2 separate regions of the Homo sapiens genome follow, and region 2 is linked to region 1. Evidence: promoter capture Hi-C in 16 types of primary human blood cells and fetal thymus (Javierre and others, 2016). All regions are on one chromosome and are shown on one strand. Each heading gives the region's core, a stretch centred on a gene start or on the middle of the fragment in contact. The rest is flanking DNA. Distances are from core to core; before and after follow the strand shown.

Region 1 (3,455 bases), core at 272-2,771:
CACGAGGAATTATTTCTGTCTCAAAGATGCAGGAATCAGCTCAACGCCTCAAAACTCCATCACCACGGTCAATGCCCTTGAAGCCATCGACAGTGATCACCCCAATAACAGAAGGTCTGTGAGCCCAGAAATGCCCTGCTCAGGGTGGTTAGCTTCAAGCCACCACCTTTCCAACCAGCCTGGGCCAGTTCTTCCAGACAGCCGCCTGCGGGCACAACAGGAAAGAGACCTGCGCCCCGGCTCAGACACCTCACACCCAGCTGGCTCTCAGGCCAGACAAACTGGGAAGCCCATCTCTCTTGAAGGAAGTCCAGATGGGAAACAGCTTCTCAACAGACCAGATCACAGCATCAGATCTAAAGGTGGCCTTCAGAATTCTTTTTCAGGTTGAATTAGGATCAAATCTAAGAATTCTAAATTCAAAATGCAGCAGAAAAACAAAACACACACACACACGGAGCCTAAGTTCTGGAGTGACATGTGCTTGGGTTCAAATCCTGGCTCTGTTGCTTCCTACTGTTTGTTGATGGGTGAGTTTCTTCATTTGCCTGAGCCTCAGTTTCCTTGTCTGTAAAATGGGGCAATAATCCCAGCTGCACAGGGTGATGTGAAGAGACAAATTTAAGACACTGCCCCTTAAATGCTAGCCACATACATACAGTTTTCAATGTTTAAACAACAAAATGTAAAGTCTTTTGAAACCAGGAAGGGTGATTTGGTTTCCCATGTTGCTGGATGTATCATTTTCAGAAAGACAGAGAGAAATGAACTTTGTTCACTCAGTCTCAGAGGCGGCCGCCGGCAGCATTCAAAGGCACCCCAGCCCGGAGCCACCCCAGGGAGGAGCCCCAGGCCAGCGGTCAGATTCATGGGCTTCCGTGCAGAAGGGGAGCTGCACCGGCGAGCACCCGGCCTCTGAGCTGAGCCGCATCCTCACGGACAGGACAGCGCCCCATTATGAGGCTCCTGCAGCTGTTCCTCGCTCCAGATAAAGGCCATGATTTATTCTGTGTGCCCAAATGGGGCCTCATTATACAGGGCAGGACACAAGGACCCTACAGCAAGTGTCCTCAAAGAGTCGCCTCTCACTCCGTGAGCAAGACTCCTCGGCCTCCCACCCTCCGTTCACAGGCCCCCTCCGCCGTCTGCGGGCGCAGGCCTGGGAGCGCCGCCTGTTGCCATGACAGCCGGCCCCTCCCTGCCCCCCATCAGTAGGAAATCATCCCCTTCTGAAACGTCCTGTTGTGTCCCTCAGCTCCAGCCCAAGCCCCCCACCCAGCCCCCGCCTGCTCTGAGTCTCTGAGACAGTCACACACTCAGACTATGTGGCCAAGCTGGGGGCGGGGGGCATGGGCTAGGGACACACTAGAATATTCACGCTCCGGTGGCAGCAGCAGCAGCAGCCAGAGGAGCAGCCCGACACAACAAGGGACCCCTCAGGAATGAAGCAGCCTTTCAGGGCCAGAGGGGCTGTGGTCTCCCTTCCTCTCCTTAAATAGCCAGCGTTCCACCCACAGCGGCAAGGAGCCCCCTGCCACCACCGACACCCACGGGCGGAGATCACCTGCTGCCCCGCAGACCCCTGTCCCTTCCTCCCGGACCAGCAGCTAGAGGTAAGGGGCAGGCTGGGTGGGGTGGACTGGGAGCCCAGGGCTAAGCAGAGGAAACACTCAGCGGGGAGCCCTGCCCAGGGAGACAGGCAGCAGCCTGTCTCGTCCCATCTCTTTGGTGATGGTCTGACCTGTGCATCGAAGGCTGACCACAGTCTGAATTCACAGCAGCCCACAAAGCGGTGTTTCGTCCCTCTGATGGGGGCTTGCAGAGGGGAAGTGGCTTGCCGGCAGTCCAGGCTGCAATGACAGCACCGCTGCCCCTAACCATTAGGCAGCCTTGACCCATAGAGGAGCCAGATGCCTGGGAGAGGGCTCGGGCCAGGGATGGAGTGGCGCTAATGCAAAGGAAACTGCCACCACCTGGCCATGGCGCTGCCACCACAGGCCCTCCCCGAGGCCACACATGCCCACCTGCCACCTCCACAGAGGCCTATGACCTGTCCTAGATGCTCGACTCACCCACAGCCACGGGACCCAACACTGCCCAGGCCCCGGCCCATGCCACGCCCTTTCCTCTTACGGACACCGGCTCGGTGGCCGTCTGACCAGTGAGTCGTGAGGAACCAGCGAGTCTAGACTGAAGTTTGTGTTTCTAAAGGGCAACAGAGAGTGAAGCGGGGCCCATCTCAGACCAAACTGCAACAATCAGTATCAGAACTCCTCAAACGGGGGACAGAAAGGGAGAAGAAACCTCAGCAAACCTGAAACCAACCAGAAAGCTGTTTAAAATGGAGTCTCAGTCCCAGAGAGAGCGAGGGGCACGCCCTTCGGCCCGGGCAGGAAGTGGAGGGCAGTGCCCAGGCTGAGGCCCCCGGGCTGGAGGCAGGAGGCACCACAGGCCCACCTGGTGCCATGAGATATGCCACCCCTGCCGTCACTCAGGGCCCTGAGCCCAGTAACACTCTGCCGTCACTGTCCTGAAACTCTTCCTTTTTGAGCAAGGGGCTGCACATTCTCATTTCATACATGGGCCCCTAAAATGAGGGAGTGGCCCCAGGGCCAGGAGGGGGTGCTGAGCCTGGGAGACAACTCCATGGCAAACTCTGAGACTGAGTCACACTCCCCACCCTGGCGGTCTTCCAGGGAGTGAGACCGTTTCCCCGGTCTCACTTCCAGCTCCAGGGCCAATGTCCCCTGGTCAAGTGACCTAAGACAAGTTAGCAGACACTCAGCCTTGACTCCCTAACCTGCAACATGGGGCTAAAACTGGTTTGAGCCAGCACAGGCAGGCCCCCACCATGCCAGGCAGAGTGGTCAGTCGTACCTATGAGCTGCTCTCTCGTGGGGCCAGGTGATGCCTGCACTGTGGGGCACAGCACAGGCCTGAGGGACAGCCTGGGGTGGAGGGCACCCACCTTGGCCCCTTCCCACCCCCAGGTTCTAACAAGGGCCCCTCACTCACTGGGCCCCCTCTCCTCTTCCAGTCTCCAGGGCCTCCCCGCACACACCTTCCTCCTCTCCTGCCAACCTGAAAACAGCACACCTGTGTGCCCCTCCCATCTACCATGGGCTGTCCTCTCTGCTTGCCCATGCGTCTGCCCTGGAGCCCTGTTCCTCCAGTCTCCGGGTCCTCACCCCCAGCACATGCAACACGACACCCTCAAAGTCATGGGCCCCCCTCCCCTGCCACCGTCCCACCGGTACCTGCTCCCTGTTCTCCCCTGCCTCACAGGCCCTGTCAAGGGCTGTGTTCCTCCCTCCTTTTACCTCTCCTCCACAGCCCCCTTCACAGCCCTCAGCCCTTCCCCAGGGCTTCAGCCAAGCCTGTCTCCCTCTCCCAAGCATCACTCACCCCGCCTTCTTCGGCCCTCAGCTCTCCGCCCTCACCGTGGTTTTAGCAGT
Region 2 (3,455 bases), core at 956-3,455, 360 kb before region 1:
TCAAAAAAGATTCGCCCAAAAAACTATACAGCAATAAAAGGAACAAACTACTGATAAATGCTAAGGCACAGATGAATCATTATGGGAAGTGAAAGAAGCCAGACATAATATATATTGTATGATTGTGTTTATATAAATTTTCCATAAAAAGCAAATCTATAGTGACAGCAGTTCAGTAGTCATCTGAAGCTAGATAGAGAAACAAAGATTGACTGCAAATGAGTACAAAGGAAATCTAAAACTGGATCATGGTGGCCGAATGCAGTGGCTCACGTCTATAATCCCAGTACTTTGGGAGGCCCAAGCAGGCAGATCACTTAAAGTCTGGACTTCAAGACCAGCCTGGCTAACATGGCGAAACCCTTTCTCTACTAAAAATACAAAAATTTGGCCAGGTGTGGTACTTTACGCCTGTAATCCCAGGGTGAGGCTGAGGTGGGCGGATCACCTGAAGTCAGGAGTTTGAGACCAGCCTGACCAACACGGAGAAACCCTGTCTCTACTAAAAATATAAAATTAGCTGGGCATGGTGGCGCACACCTGTAATCCTAGCTACTCGGGAGGCTGAGGCAGGAGAATCACTTGAACCCGGGAGGCAGAGCTTCCAGTGAGCTGAGATTGCACCACTGCACTCCAGCCTGGGCAACAAGAGCGAAACTGTCTCAAATAAAAAAAAATTAGCCGGGTGTGGTAGTACACACCTGTAGTCCCAGCTACTTGGGAGGCTGAGGCAGGGGAATCAGTTGAACCCTAGAGGCGGAGGTTGCAGTGGGCCAAGATCACACGACTGCACTCCAGCCTGGGCAACAAAGCAAGATGCCATCTCAAAAAAAAAAAGAAAAGAAAACTTGGATCATGGTCATGGTTGCACTGGTCCACAAATTTACTAAAACTCATTGGATTATATATTTACAAGGGGTGATTTTATGGTATATAAATTAAATCAATAGAGCAGCTTAAAAAAAAAAGGTTTGCCCATGATACTTGGAGAAGTAGGGCTTCTATTACATATTGACTAAGGATCAATATTCCGGGCTTCAAATAAAACACATCACCACCATTTTGGGAAGGGCTTTTCAGTGCTCCTAACCCAGTTTTTAGAGGGCCATTAAAAAACGGATGAAGCTGAGCAGCAAAAGGAAGATGGAGGAAAGAAAATATCATTTTCTAAATCACTACTGAGCCAGTGATTAAGCAAACTGTGAATGTGAACACTCCTGCCTGCATCCCACTTAAGAATTACTGGCCGGGCACGGTGGCTCACGCCTGTAATCCCAGCACTTTGGGAGGATGAGGTGGGTGGATCACGAGGTCAGGAGTTCAAGACCAGCCTGGCCAAGATGGGGAAACCCTGTCTCTACAAAAATACAAAAATTAGCCTAGCATGGTGGCAGGTGCCTGTAATCCCAGCTACTCAGAGGCTGAGGCAGAGAACTGCTTGAACCTGGGAGGTGGAAGTTGTGGTGAGCTGAGATCGTGCCACTGCACTCCAGCTTGGGTGACAGAGTGAGACTCCCTCTCAAAAAAAAAAAAAAGAACTATTAAAAGCTTTACCCAGCAAGCCAGCAAGTCTTTCTAGCCAGTTGGGTGGGCTACACAGCAGTCCCTTTCCCAACCTAACAACTGGAAATTGGTTTGTCTGTTCAGCAAGTGGACAGCTCAGCTCCAGCCTGCTTACCTGGTATGGTGTGCACTTCATCCAGGATCATGAGGCCCCACTCCTGGGTCTTGAGCCACTCCATGACTCGCTCGGCCTCCCAGGACCTTTTGGTGGTGTGGCCCAGCATGGAGTAGGTGCTAATGGCAACGGAGCAGCCGATGGGCTTGTCCTTGGCATCGGAGGTGAACCGGCAGATCTGGCTGTCGTCAATGGTGGACCACATCTTGAACTGGGCTTTCCACTGCTCCACAGAAACAGCTGAGTTGCCCAGCACCAGACAGCGTTTTCTGACAGTGCATGCAGCAGTCACACCAACCAGGGACTTTCCAGCACCTACAAGAAACAAGAGTGCAATCCCACCCAAGGACAGGTTGAAATGAAGGACAGGGACAGGCAGAATGACTCACAAGTACAGCAATCTAGGAAAATGTCTTGTAACAGTCCACATAGCTGACATCTGAGCGACACACACTGCTCCAGCCTGTTTTCTTCTTTATAATGAGGAGACATGCCCACTTCACATACATATGTGAGAAATGGCAGGCGCTGGGGCCTACTGTAGCACTTTACACACATCTCATTTAAATGTCAAAATCTCAAAACAAACCAGTGAGAAGAGAAATGCCTGTTATTGTTATTTTAAAGATAGAAAAACCTGGCTGAGCCACCATGCCACGGTGGCTCATACCTGTAATCCCAGCACTTTGGGAGGCCGAGGTGGGTAGATCACATGAGGTCAGGAGTTCAAGACCAGCCTGGCCAACATGGTGAAACCCTATCTTTACTAAAAATACAAAAAATTAGCCGGGCATGGTGGCGGGCGCCTATAATCCCGGTCACTTGGGAGGCTGAGGCAGGAGAATATCTTGAACCCAGTAGGCGGAGGTTGTGGTGAGCCAAGATGGCGCCACTACACTCCAGCATGGGCAACGGAGCAAGACTCTGTCTCAAAAAGAAAAAAGAAAGATTGAAAAACTAAAGCTGAGGAGTACTTTACCTTGCCCACAGCCACGGGACAGTGAAGCTACTGGGTCCCAGCATGCCTGGCCCACAGAAGGAGGCACTCGGCAAAAGACCACTATTATTATTACACAGCAAACGGGGCTGAGAATTCAGGGATGCGCTATGTGTGTACAGAGAAAATGAAATTCCAGGAGCTTCTGAGTTTACTACCATCCACCATTTGAAGATCAAGAGAAAAATCAAGCTTTTCCATTAAACAGAGATCCTTCCTTTATTATAAAAATACACTGTGAGTTACCAGGAATAAACGTAAATAAAAAAAATTTGTAAAGTGAAATAAAAAAGGAAAACAACATCAAAATAACCCTTGGAGTTTTGGAAAAAAAGAACCTCCCCTTCCCTGAAGACCTTGCCTCTGTAAGTCCTCAGTGGGGTCCCAAGGTGAGTCTGCTGTGGTCTCTGGCCAAGAAGCTAGGCTAGGACCTGACACTACTGGGATAAGTGGTCAAACAGGTGCCCAGGGGGCCACTCCTGCCTTTCCCTGGACCTGCACACCATCCTAGTCATCCAGGAACACCAAAGTTTCTGCGCTAGGGAGTCTCCAAATACACAACCCCTAAGGCTGATTCAAGAACAAGAACCTAACCCCACTAAGTGCAACAGCCCCTTGCCATCATTACAATCTCACCCCTCATGTGCTCTAATTTTTCTTCGCTGACTCTAGCACCACCCAAGGTTGTACACATCTGCTTACCATCTGTCTCTTCCCCAGAAGAGTGAGCTCCATGAGGTCAGAAGTGTTGTTCTAGCCACCATAATACCCCCAGTGTCC

Evidence for each region. Contacts are between HindIII fragments. The CHiCAGO score rates a contact against its expected background, and 5 or more counts as called.
Region 2: a contact is called between a fragment that was not itself captured here and the fragment with the promoter of GPR17 in region 1, in 1 of 17 cell types (neutrophils). The highest score is 5.2, in neutrophils.

The regions. Positions count from the first base shown.
Region 1 is chr2:127,644,632-127,648,086 of GRCh38, forward strand. It overlaps GPR17 (G protein-coupled receptor 17), which reads left to right and starts at 1,522. Exons shown (of 2, transcript NM_001161417.2): 1 at 1,522-1,613. The region is part of intron 4 of LIMS2 (LIM zinc finger domain containing 2); the gene reads right to left. The HindIII fragment of the contact is 22,539 bases long and covers 1-3,455 here.
Region 2 is chr2:127,285,025-127,288,479 of GRCh38, forward strand. It overlaps ERCC3 (ERCC excision repair 3, TFIIH core complex helicase subunit), which reads right to left. Exons shown (of 15, transcript NM_000122.2): 8 at 1,679-1,993. Among named protein-coding and RNA genes, the nearest start is that of ERCC3, 7.4 kb to the right of the region's middle. The HindIII fragment of the contact is 1,319 bases long and covers 1,547-2,865 here.